4 separate regions of the Homo sapiens genome follow, and all the other regions are linked to region 1. The links are contacts of gene promoters, found by promoter capture Hi-C in blood cells and fetal thymus (Javierre and others, 2016). All regions are on one chromosome and are shown on one strand. Each heading gives the region's core, a stretch centred on a gene start or on the middle of the fragment in contact. The rest is flanking DNA. Distances are from core to core; before and after follow the strand shown.

The links. The method cuts DNA at HindIII sites, captures the fragments that hold promoters and counts their contacts. A CHiCAGO score of 5 or more calls a contact.
Region 2: a fragment that was not itself captured here is called in contact with the fragment with the promoter of ZNF384 in region 1 in 1 of 17 cell types (naive CD4 T cells); the score reaches 5.8 in naive CD4 T cells.
Region 3: a fragment that was not itself captured here is called in contact with the fragment with the promoter of ZNF384 in region 1 in 1 of 17 cell types (activated CD4 T cells); the score reaches 5.4 in activated CD4 T cells.
Region 4: a fragment that was not itself captured here is called in contact with the fragment with the promoter of ZNF384 in region 1 in 1 of 17 cell types (activated CD4 T cells); the score reaches 6.1 in activated CD4 T cells.

Annotation. Positions count from the first base shown.
Region 1 is chr12:6,687,961-6,691,051 of GRCh38, reverse strand. It overlaps ZNF384 (zinc finger protein 384), which reads left to right and starts at 1,677. Exons shown (of 12, transcript NM_001385745.1): 1 at 1,677-1,954; 2 at 2,826-2,885. RefSeq lists silencers at 1,559-1,638, 1,719-1,828 and an enhancer at 1,199-1,825. The HindIII fragment of the contact is 17,984 bases long and covers 1-3,091 here.
Region 2 is chr12:6,321,241-6,324,466 of GRCh38, reverse strand. All of the region lies in intron 13 of PLEKHG6 (pleckstrin homology and RhoGEF domain containing G6), which reads right to left. Among named protein-coding and RNA genes, the nearest start is that of PLEKHG6, 12 kb to the right of the region's middle. RefSeq lists enhancers at 1-452, 896-985, 1,036-1,105, 994-1,535. The HindIII fragment of the contact is 1,382 bases long and covers 943-2,324 here.
Region 3 is chr12:6,356,467-6,359,325 of GRCh38, reverse strand. All of the region lies in intron 4 of SCNN1A (sodium channel epithelial 1 subunit alpha), which reads left to right. Among named protein-coding and RNA genes, the nearest start is that of TNFRSF1A, 16 kb to the right of the region's middle. The HindIII fragment of the contact is 2,019 bases long and covers 374-2,392 here.
Region 4 is chr12:7,061,414-7,064,707 of GRCh38, reverse strand. It overlaps C1S (complement C1s), which reads right to left. Exons shown (of 12, transcript NM_001734.5): 2 at 2,791-2,869; 3 at 2,026-2,233; 4 at 1,641-1,818; 5 at 316-441. The coding sequence starts at 2,795. Among named protein-coding and RNA genes, the nearest start is that of C1S, 2.3 kb to the right of the region's middle. The HindIII fragment of the contact is 7,460 bases long and covers 1-3,294 here.

The DNA of each region.
Region 1 (3,091 bases), core at 428-2,927:
TTAAATATTTAAAGGCGTACTTTGTTACTTTCTTGCTTTGACCTTGGGGGAAAAAATCACTTAATCCTTTACAGGCTTATTTTCATTATCTGTAAAATGAGCATTATAATTATTTCTGTTAAAGTTATTTTTTGCTGGGCGTGGTGGCTCACGCCTGTAATCCCAGCACTTTGGGAGGCTGAGACAGGTGGATCAGTTGAGGTCAGGAGTTCGAGACCAGCCTGGCCAACATGGTGAAACCCCGACTCCACTAAAGATACAAAAAATTAGCCCGGTGTGGTGGCGGGCGACTGTCATCCCAGCTGCTAGGGAGGCTGAGGCAGGAGAATCGCTTGAACCCAGGAGGCAGAGGTTGCAGTGAGCCAAGATGGCGCCAATGCACTCCAGCCTGGGCAACAGGGTGACACTCTGTCTTTAAAAAAAAAAAAAAAAGGTTATTTTTCTCAGCAAGAGGCTCTTACCATTAGTAGGAGAGACCTCAGTTCTGCTTAGAGCTGAGCCCAGGGGGATTCTGGCCAGGTCGGGGTGCACGCTTGTAACAGCATTCACTTGTTCAAACAACATATTCAGCATTTACTATATGCTCAGCAAAGCAACGTATTTCCTTCCATGAGGAACTGACAATCTTGCTGGGGAATCACATGTATGAAATAGTTAAAATATCAATAAAAGGTACGTATTAAATACTATGGGAATTCAGAGGGACCATTACAGGTTGGAGCAATCAGGCAAGGCTTCCTAAAAGGGTTCATATTTAGGTGTTCATAATGAACTATAGTTCATTTATACAACAAGAGTTTACAGACCACTTAACTGCCAGGATATGAGGATACAGCAACGAACAATTCAGTCCTCGCTGTCCTGTAGCCAATATTTTAGTTGGGAGAGGTGGACAGCAAACAATAAATCAGGCAGTAATAAGTGCTATATTTAAGTAAAACAGGGTAAGGGGATAGAGATGTGGGTATGGGCAACAAGAAAAGACCAAAGTAAAGTAAGGGATGTGTCAGAGAGACAGATTTTGATGGCTGGGAGAGTTTCTAACTGGACCTAAGTAGGGACCTCCGAAAAACAAGGATACGTCCTAGTCCTTTCCCGCATATTCAAAGCATTGAGACATTCTTGGGGGTATCAGAAAAAATAATGGTAATTTCCTACATCAGCTTATTCAACATCCAGAGGGAAGAGAAACGGGGTCCCAGCATCTGAAGAACCCACACCTCCTCTCCTACCTTGATGGATAATTCATGAACCTGTCGCGTTTCCACCCCCCCACCTTCCCCAGATGTCCCTTCCGGAAGCTCAGGGCCGGAGTCCTCCGGTTTCAGCTTTTGCCCCTAGCGGAACCCGCCTTCACTTCCGCTATAGCGTCACATCCCCTCTTCCCAGTCGCTGGGCAGAAGCTATTTCCGCCCCGAGTTATCGTAACTTCTGCCCTGAATATCTCGCAGCGCTAGCGGCGCCGGAAGTGTTCCAGCCACTCCCGGAAGTGACTCGGCTTCTGCACGCCCCTCTTTCTCCATTAGCGCCCCCCCTACATTGCTATTTCCCTCCCTCCCCCCTTTTCGTTTCCGGCGCTCCCGCCTTCTCTCCGCAGAGCTCTTCTCTGAGCCTGTTGGGGGGAGGGAGGGGGGCGTGGAGGAACTGGGGTTCGCGGGAGCACGAGCTGCAGCACCACTTCCGGGTGAGTGCAAGGGGAGGGCAGCAAGGAGGGGGGGCCACCCACTACCTCGCGCCCCCGCCCTGCGGGTGTCTCGCGCGCGTTCCGTGCGTGTGAGTGTGTGGGTCTGTCTCGCTCCAGAAGTGCGTGCCCGCGCGCTGCGCCTTGCGCTTTTTCCCCTCCCTCGCCCCTTCCTGGTCCTCCCACCCTCCTCGGCTCCCTCCTTTCCCAGCAAACGCCGCCCCTCCCGCGCCCTGGCTCAGGCTCTGGCGCCGCCGCAGCCGTCGCCGCCCGGTGAGTCTCGCGCCGCTACAGCCGGCGCGCGCCAAGCTGCTTGCTCCTCCCCCCTCCCCTTTTCCTTGGGCAGGCGGGGAAGGGGGGGTCCACGATGTGACTGTGTGTGTGTCCGTCCCGGAACCGGAAGTGGTTGTGGAGGAGCGGGCGATGGGAAGGAATGGGGGGGTTTAGGGGGCGGGTGCCTGTCTGGTGGGTGGCAGAGTTCAGCTCCCTGGAGGGGAAGGAGGGACGTCCCAAGGAAGGGTCTTTGAGAAAGGGGTAGGGGACGACATCAGGAGAAGGCTCCCAGGAACTGTCTCAGGGGAGCGAAGGTTTTGAGGGGACAGCTGGGGTCTCCAGTAGATAGACCACGGTGCAGGCTGAGGGAGGTACTTCTTGGCACAAGGCCTCGGGTAGGCAGGGGGCGAAGTCCTCGAAGAAGTGGGGGGAAGGCTAGAGGAAGTGGCTGGGCCTGAACTGGCACTGTGCCTGCCACAAGGTCTTGTGCATCCCCCAGCCCTCAGCTTTGCCTTCTGAAGCCACTCCTCAGGGGCACAGACCCTCCTCCTCCTCCATCTCTAATGTTCTCTGACCCCTGGTTACCTGTGGCCTGGGAACGAACAAGGACCAGTCTCTGAGCCTAGGAGTGAAACCCAAACGCTGGTGATAGAATTCGTCTTAGTTTCTGGGAATTGGATTTATTTCTCTTGTATCCACGTAGAGGGTAGCACTAGACTGCTGTTATTATATCCACCCGTCTTTGGATTGCTGGCTGGGGGGTCTGCCTGCCTTCCAGACTGACTGCTGACAAATAATTCCTGAGGTTCTCCACAGTTCTCTGGTGGCTGCACCCTGCCTGGCCCCTGTAACCTAGACAATTTGTTTACAGAAAGTTCAGGAGCCCTGGAAAGGAGAAGGAATAAGACGGCAGGAGGAAGAGAGAGAGAGGGTAAGATGATTTTTGGGTTAATGGCTTTTCTGGTTTTGGGGGAGAAGGGGTCACAACCAAATGGGGCGTGTGTGTGTTTCACAATGTGATAGAATACTTAAAGTAATAGCAATTGTAATGCTGAGATTGTTGTGGAGAGAAATCAGTTTTTTTCTATTATCTCTTGAGGGTCAGGAAGTTTTTGTGTAAAAAGTTGGCGCTATCCC
Region 2 (3,226 bases), core at 384-2,883, 370 kb after region 1:
CCCCACAGGACCCAAATTCAGGTTTGTGTTTCGGGTGCCAAGGAAGGGATGTTACGGGAAAGAAGAACTGGAAGGAAGCAGGGTTTCTGTAAGGGACGTTCAATGCCATCATCTCTGCTAAACTTGCCCCTTGCCCGACCCCAGGAAGAGGCTGGAGGAGGCGGCGGGGGGGGGAGGGGGGCGAGGGGGAGCCCCGAGTACGGGGTAGGGGGTCGGGGGAATGGGCGGGATGGGGCTCTTGGAGGTGCCTCCCAGCGAGCCCAAAGCCTCTCCAGCAACCCTGGGAGAATTTTCTCGGCTTGGTTAAGAGGAGAGACACATGGGGGCAGAGGGGACGGGAAAGGAAAAGGAAATTGGCGCTTAAGCCAGAATGTGACCCCCCTACAAAACTGAGAAGAGGAAGGGAGGGCCCCTAGCAGGATTCTTCTTCCTTTGTACCCATGGAGAGGAAATGCCTCCTTTCCCTGCTGTCTCTGGGGTGGCTCCTAGATTCACCCACTCTCCTCCCAGAACTCCCCAGTGCCGGACTAAAACCGAACTCTGAAACGTGCCCACTGACTTCCTGAGCAACAGATGCGGATGCGTTTCCCCAGTCAGCAGCAGGCCCTACCCAGGCCCCAAAGACCACCCCTTTCTTCTAATGATGACAACGGCAAACATTTATGGAGTGCCCATACAGTGCTGGGCCTTGTGCCTGGCCACTTGCGGACTGTCTGTCCTGCGTGCACTGCAACTCCCCAAGAGGTGAAGTAACTCCCTGACAGCTGCTCGGGCCTCTCCTTCAGACCCTGGCTCTTAGCCTCGGCTGCCTCCTTCAGTCTCCCTGCTTTAATTTCTTGGTCGCCATCTCTGACGGCTCTTTCTGTTCCTGTCTCTGTTCCTTTTCCTCTTCTCAGTCCCTGGGCATTCCCCAAGATTCAGTCTCTTCTCCCTGGAGAAGCTTACTTTCTCTAAAAGTGTGAGTCATCACAGCTAGACCCGCTAGGAATAAATCTGCAAGTCAACGTTTCTGCCAGGGTGAGAAAACAATAGTCTGCCCCCTGGGGATTGCTCTATGAAAGGGACCAACAGAGTTTCTACTGCCCTCTTCAGTGTATAAAGACTGATGGCTCTAGAGAGGATTCCCTAATAATCTGGTGTGAGACAATAGCAGGAAAAGTCATTTCAAAGTTTCAGTTTTCTTTGTTTTGCTAAGGAAGGCCAGGGAGCCTTGGTGCATATCTTGGTTATAGATCTTGACAGATCTTTCCTGTTAGCCTGGAGTGAGACTACCAGGGGACTGAGTTGTTTTGCATAGTAAAATACCCGTAATTTTCAGTAGCTCTTGGGATTCTGAAAGGGAGAAGGTGAGAGTCTGGCTGTTGTTCTGTGACTAAAAACCAAAAAAAAGAGGAGAAAGTTCTGAAGGTGGAGGTGGCAGTTCCGAAGGAAAAAAGGCAGCCTGCCATTCACTGCCAGCCCCACTGGCTATCCTGGGGAGTTGGGGCTCTAGGGACACCGATGCCACTAGCTTGCGCTTTTGTCCCTGGGCTCCCCCTTGAGCCTCTAGCCTTCAGGAAAATGTTTTATTTAACTTTTTTTTTTTTTAGACAAGGTCTCACCCTGTTGTCTGGGTTGTAGTGCAGTGGTGGGAACATAGCTCACCGCAGGCTCTATCTCCCGGGTTCAAGTGATCCTCCCACCTCAGCCTCCCGAGTAGCTGGGACTACAGGCATGCGCCACCAGGCCCAGCTAATTTTTGTATTTTTTGTAAAGATGGGGTTTTGCCATGTTGGCCAGGCTGGGTCTTGAACTTCTGGTCTCAAGCCATCTGCCTGCCTCAGCCTCTCAAAGTGCTGGGATTAGAGGAGGTGAGCCACTACGCCTGGCCAAGAAAATTTGATTAACCACCAGAATGATGTCACTTGCCAGTCAGTCCAGCCTAGTGGAAAGTGTGTTTAGGCTTAGGTGGAAGTGGTGGAGAGAAGTCCCTGCCATGCAGAGGGGACAGTGAACCGAGCCGGAAGCAGGGGACAGGGCAGATGGGAGACCACTGTCATCACAAAACCCACCTGCCTCCCCTTGGGGTGTGTTTTTTGTCCTCCTCTTTCACTTGAATTCCAGGTCTTTGTTTCTGTTTCTTTTGTTCCCAAAGCCCCTAAGATATCTCCACTAGGTTATATCTTGGCTGCCTCAATTTCAAAGCGCTGCTGTTTAAATATTCCTACAGTAAAGCCACCTCACTGAGGAAGCAATAACTAAACAAACACATTTCCCTTTCCCTTTCTAATGACTGCATTTCTGTCTGGGGTCCCATTGCCAATGCAGTGTTCCAAACTGAAGCTTCGGGAGGCCAACTGTGCTCTTTGCCGCTGGGTATCTGGAGTTCCTGAGCCTGTGCCCAGTGCTGGCCCCAGGCTGTGTGCCTAAGCCGAATGACAGCTTTGAATCTCCCTAGGAAGCAGGTAGTCATTGTGTATATCTGTTTTGCAGATGACGAAATTGAAGTTGAGGGAGGTCATATAACTTACCCAAGGTCACATGGCTAGGACCTGGTAGGACCGGTGTCTGAACCTGGATTTTTCTGAATTCAGTATAGACTTTAACCAAAGTATCCCTAAGGCTCCCCCTTCTCTTCCCTCTTCTTTTTTTTTTTTTTTTAAGACAGAGTCTCGCTCTGTCGCCCAGGCTGGAGTGCAGTGGCGCGATCTCGGCTCACTGCAAGCTCCGCCTCCCGGGTTCACGCCATTCTCCTGCCTCAGCCTCCCGAGTAGCTGGGACTACAGGTGCCCGCCACCGCGCCCGGCTAATTTTTTGTCTTTTTTAGTAGAGATGGGGTTTCACCGTGGTCTCAATCTCCTGACCTCGTGATCGGCCCGCCTCGGCCTCCCAAAGTGCTGGGATTACAGGCGTGAGCCACCGCGCCCGGCCTCTTCCCTCTTCTTTAGGTCCTTTCTTCTCCTTTGTTTTTTGTCCCTTTTTGCAATGTCTCCCTAAGGCTGTGGCACTAAACCTTCCATGTTTCACACCCAAACTAGTACAATAAACCTCCTGTCACCAATTTCTCCCTCCTCCAGCCCACCCAGCACACTGCTACCTGATTTCCTGAAAACCTAATTCAAGAGGAAACACACTGATTTCACCCTTGCTCAAGAATTCATGGCAGGGCTATGCACGGTGGCTCACGCCTGTAATCTCAGCACTTTGGGAGGCCGAGATATGCAGATTGCTTAAGCTCAGGAGTTCA
Region 3 (2,859 bases), core at 134-2,633, 330 kb after region 1:
CCTTTCCTCCCCGATAACTACACCCTTTTCCCCCACCCTATAATCTTTTTTTAATAACACTTTTATTGAGATATAATTTACAAACCATAAATGTATTCTTTTAATATGTATAATTTAGTGATTTTTAATATATTTGGAGTTGTGTAACCATTACCACTACCTGTTTTTAGAATATTTTCCTTACCCCAAAAAGAAACCCTGTACCCATTAGCAGTTCTTCCCCATTTTCTCCCCTCCTCCAAGCCCTGAGAGCCACTCTTCTGCTTTCTGTCTCTATGGATTGCCTGTGGTGGACATTTCACATAAGTGGAATCATACAATATGTGGTCTTTTGTGAGTGGCCTCTTTCATTTAGCATAACGTTTTCAAAGCTTATCCATGTTGTAGCATGGATCAGAACTTCATTTTTATGGCTGAATACTATGATATTGTGTAGATACACCACCTTTTTTTTTTTTTTTTTTTTGAGACAGGTTCTCACTCTGTTACCCAGGCTGGAGTACAGTGGCACAATCAGACCTCACTGTAGCTTTGATTTCCTGGGCTGAAACGATCCTCCTGATTCAGCCTCCCAAGTAGCTGGGACTACAGGCTCATGCCACCATGCCCAGCTAATTTTTTTTAATTTTAGTAGAGACTAGGTCTCACTATGGTGCCCAGGCTGATCTCGAACTCCTGAGCTCAAGCCATCCTCCTGCCTCGGCCTCCCAAAGTGCTGGGATTATAGGTGTAAGCCACCACGCCCGGCCCACATTTTTGCTTATCCATTCTCAGTTGATGGACATTTGGATTGTTTCTACTTTTTGGCTGTTATGATTAATGCTGCTATGAACATTCCTGTACATGTTTTTGTGGATCCTGTACATGGATCTATGTTTTTATTTCTCTTGGGTGTTTACCTATGAGTGGAACTGCTGGGTCATGTGGTAACTCTATATTTAACATTTTGAGGAGCTACCAGACTTTTCCAAATGGTCACACCATTTAACATTCCCAACAGCAATGTATGAAGGTTCTAAATTCTCTACCTCCTCCTCATGCTGTTGTCTGTCTTTTTGACTTTAGCCATCTTAATGAATCCCTGTAATCGTACTAGTGAGCTAATACAGCTCTTACTAAGGCTAGACACCATTCTAAGCATAATTTCATGCTCAACACCCCTGTGAGGTTGATATTTTTATTATCCCCATTTTACAGCTGAGGAAACTGAGGTACAGAGAGATTAAGTAAGTAACTTGTTTGGTCCCACATCTAATACTTGTTAGAGCCCCAGGATTCAAATACAAGGAATTTAATTCTGGAGTCTGTGCTCTTTTTTTTTCTTTTGGAGACGGAGTTTCACTCTTACTGGCCAGGCTGGAGTGCAATGGCGCAATCTCAGCTCATGACAACCTCCACCTCCCAGGTTCAAGTGATTCTCCTGCCTCAGCTTCCTGAGTAGCTGGGATTACAGGCATGTGCCGCCGTGCCCGGCTAATTTTGTATTTTTAGTAGAGATGGGGTTTCACCATGTTGGCCAGGCTGGTCTCAAACTCCTGACCTCAGGTGACCCCACCCGCCTCGGCCTCCCAAAGTGCTGGGATTACAGGCGTCAGCCACTGCGCCTGGCTGAGTCTGTGCTCTTAACCATCACATTATACTGATTCTCATAGGCCACTATAGTAATGTGCTTAGTGTGTATCTCTATGTGTTTTTGCAAAATCTGTATTTAATTTATATAAATGGTATTGTGTTATAGATCTCATTTCACCTCTTACTATTTTTTTTTTTGAGACAGAGTCTCGCTGTAGTGTGCAGTGGTGCAATCTCAGCTCACTGCAACCTCCCAAGTTCAAGCGATTCTTCTGCCTCAGCCTCCCGACTAGCTGAGATAATAGGTGCCCACCACCACGCCTGGCGAATTTTTGTATTTTTGGTAGAGACGGGGTTTCACCATGTTGGCCAGGCTGGTCTCAAACTTCTGACTTCAACTGATCCACCTGTCTCAGCCTCCCAAAGTGTTGGGATTACAGGCGTGAGCCACTGTGCCCCACCACTTTTTTTTTTCGAAGCTCTATGTTTTAAAACCCATCCGTGTTTCTCCACCGCTGATGGAACTTGTGCCTGCTTTCCATGGGGGCAGCACCCACCATTATACTTGTCCCCTCTCTGTGTGCGAAGGGCTCACCAGCCTTCAGGACTGGCCACCTCTGTAGCCTCTCCTTCAGTCCTTCCCTGCATCTAGCCTGGGCTCTAGAAGTGCTGACTTCCCAGTACATCCTAGAATGTGCACCAGTATGTCACGCCTCTGTGCCTTTGTTCTTCAAGGCCAGTGGAATATCCCGGATCACCTAGTTCCAATCTCCTCATTTTACAGAATCATCCTACATTTTACAGAGGAGGAGAATAAGCTTAGAAACAATGACCTGCTTGAGACCGTACAACCAGAACCCCACCCTTTATCTCTGGCCAGCCTCTTCTCCCTCTTCTCTTTAGTCCTCCTCTGCTGCTCACTGGCCGAAGTCCCCTTTCCGTCTTTGCCTGGCTCCCGTCGCTAGCTCCAAGATGGCAGGGTAGCAGAACACAGATCCTCTCTGTGCCGTGTGGCACATGTGCTGTGCTACAACCCACACAGCCTCCCTGTTCTGGAACCTGTGATTTGCTGTGAAATTGCAGTCCTACTGCAGCTGTGTTGCCTCTGTGATTGCTTTCTCTCTGTCCCCACACCTGTCACAGATGAGTTTTGGACCTACCATTCTGAGACATACTGATGCAAGAGGCTCCCAGGAAACACTTGGTACTGATCTTCCTCCCCTCAGCTCCGTGCTCACCACTGGTCACACTTTCTCCTTTAACCCTGCTCCCCTCCTCCCCTTCATT
Region 4 (3,294 bases), core at 319-2,818, 370 kb before region 1:
TCAACGTGGGAGGAGGTTGAAACAGGGGCGAGAAAACTACACACTGGGTATAGTGTACACCGCTCAAGTAACAAGTGCACTAAAATCTCAGAATTGACCACTAAGGAACTCATCCATGTAACCAAAAACACCAGTACCCCCAAAACTATTGAAATTATTAAAAATAATACATAAATAAATAAATTCTAAAATAAAAAAGAAGTGCCAAATGAAGGCTTGGCCTAATCGAAGTTGGAAGGGTGGACAAAGCCCTTTCTGAGGCCTCAGCCATTCCAAATCCCAGGGAACATGCAACCCTCTTAACACCAAGCTCACCTCCGCAATTCTTCATGTCATCATGGAGGAAATATTCCGGGGGGCAGGAGCAGAAGTAACCACCAATGAAATTGTTGCAGAAGTGGCTACAAGGGACATCTACAAAATCTGTGCATTCATTTATGTCTACAAAGAGTAGAAAGAGGCTGAGGTCAAGAACAAACACCAAGAAGGGAGAATGAGGTTAAATCCAAAACCATAAGGGTAAGAAAAAGTAGGAAAGGCCTATTGCTTAAAGATCCGTCAAGGGATCACATTTCAGGCTACTATTATTCCATATTACTCTCCTGACATATGATTCCAGAGTTGAGCCCTACCACTACACAGCTATAAGGAAGCTCGGGGGTGTGTGTGTGTAAGTGACATAGCCTCACTCTGTCACCGAGGCTGGAGTGCAGTGGTGGGATCTTGGCTCACTGCAACCTCCACATTTTCAAGCAAGTTCAAACAAGTCTCACGCCTCTACCTCCCGAGGAGCTGGGAACACAAGCACGCACCACCACTATGCCTGGTTAATTTTTCATATTTTTAGTAGAGACAGGGTTTCACCATGTTGGCCAGGCTGGTCTTGAACTCCTGGGCTCCGGTAATCCACCTGCCTCAGCCTCCCAAAGTGCTGGGATTACAGGTGTGAGCTACCATGCCCGGCCTAGGCAGCTCTTAATGTCAGAGATCCTTGACTTTTCTCATGTACAGAGCATTTCAGCTCCAGGAATGACACTCTGCAAGGTAAACATCATGACGATGCCTTCTGCAGGGAGGAATCAGTACATTCATTGCTTTATATGATGTTGGTCCTTCTGTCAAATCTAAACAATAGTTTGGCTTTATGAGATGTCCTAGCTTCATTTTAACCTAGAGAGAGATACAGAAGTACCCAGAATTTGAAGGTTTGAATGCCATATATTGAATGGGTTTAAATACTACACATTCCTTGTGTGATTCTTGGCAAGTTATTAACTTTCCTAGTCCTTATTTTCTTCATCTTTATATGGAGCAAATAATACCTACCTTGAAGGATTAAAGTGACGATTGTGTTAAAATAGGAAAAATCCCCAATCCCCAATACATACCCAGTTTATAGTGGCTCTCAACAAATTGCTGTTTATTATGTACTATGTGTTATTACCATGATCATCATCACCACTAAGATATGATCATGCATTTGAATTTCACAAAAGTGATTTATGGAGCGACCCAGGCCAAGTCAACACTTTTTATAAGAATTACGAACAGAATCCTCATTCAATGTGTTGCTCAGTGGATTTCTCATTTCTAATCTTTTAGCTGGGTCAATAAGGCACATGCAGAAGGGTGAGCCTTACCTGTGGCAACATAGTATGCAGCAAACCCCGTAAAACGCTCTTCATTGGAAAAGTCTGACTTAAAGATCACCTGGAGTTTGTTGTATGGGACTTGGAACTCTTCCACAATTGGAGAGTGGGGATTGTTACTGCTCCTCTGTCCACAGAGCCTCCCTTCTTCAGTGTCTCCTGAGATTATCTAAGAGAAGAGTCACAAAAAAAAAATCTAGGAAAGGGTAATATTTTGGTATGGAGTTAAAAGAAGGGACAGAGAGAATAGAACATTTATGCCACTAGGACTTGACTCCAGTTCACTGTGAGTACAGGTGGCACTCCCTCCCACATCCTTATTCCGCTACCTTAGCCCTAGTCTTCCATCTCTATTCTTTTTGTGCTTATAACATACCTGCACTGAGTCATACGCACAGTTCTCTGACAGCTCAATGTCCAGATGGGTGAAGTAGAGGTGAATCCCATACCCTTCAGGAACTTCTATGTCCCAAGATTTCTCTACCTCACTGGGATATGCCTGAGGATAGTTAGGGGACAGGATCTCCCCATACATGGTAGGCTCAGCATAAACCCATGCCAAAAGTGAAAACAGGACAATGCACCTGAAAAAACAGAGGCATAGATTGGCGGGTGACCAGGCACCAGTAGCCTAGGACAGAACGCGCTATTTGCCAGAGGCAGAAGAAAGGGGGAAGAAGAGAGGCAGTCAATCGGCCATGGGGGAGAATCTTAGGTCGGAATAAAGAAAAGGCCCAGGTCAAACCAAAACCCAGGCTTCAGACAAGAGCCCTTTTTTTTTTTTTTTTGAGACAGGTTCTCACTCTGTCACCCAGGCTGGAGTGCAGTGGTGCGATCTCAGGTCACTGCAGCCTTGACCTCCCGCGCTCAAGTGATTCTACCACCTCAGCCTTTTGAGTAGCAGGGACCACAGGTGACACGCATGACGCTGGGCTAATTTTTTTTTTTTTTAATAGAGACAGGGTCTCCTTATGTTGCCCAGGCTGGTCTCAAAGTCCTGGGCTCAAGCAATCCTCCCGCCTCAGCCTCCCAAAGTGCTGGGGTTACAGGTGTGAGCCATCATGCCTGGCCCTTGAGCGCTTTTCTTGAGAAGATGAAGGGAATGGAGTCTGTGTCATCTCAGGGACCCTTGATCACTTACCACATCTCTGGCGATTTGTCCACCCTGGTGAGCTGCCTGTCTCTTGGTCCTGGCTTTCTGCACCTCCGGACTTTGGAGCCTAAGGGGTGGCAGGCCTGGCTGTATTTGTCTGACAAACACAAGCACCTTCTTTGGTGGTGCGGCGTCACCTGGGGCTCAGTGTCACCTTCAAAGGTATAACACACAGGGCCATATCACCAACATCCCCACATGGCACCGTGCCCCTCACACCCTCCCTAGTTAACTTCGACTAACTTTCTAGACTATAGCTAAATTGTATCCTTCCCTCATTGCTTCTCTAGACTTTCTCCTAATTTTTCTCCAAAGGAATCGAGTACTTTCTCCCAGTTTTCTTCTTCCTCTATTGTCCTCCACCAGCCCCACCCCCGCGGTATCAGTCTCTCTCCTGCCCTCAAGAACGATGCTCCCATTTCCACTCAGGTTTTCAACAGTCTTGGCGCATCATGATCATCCATGTAGGACAGCCCCTCTTCTTTAACCGTG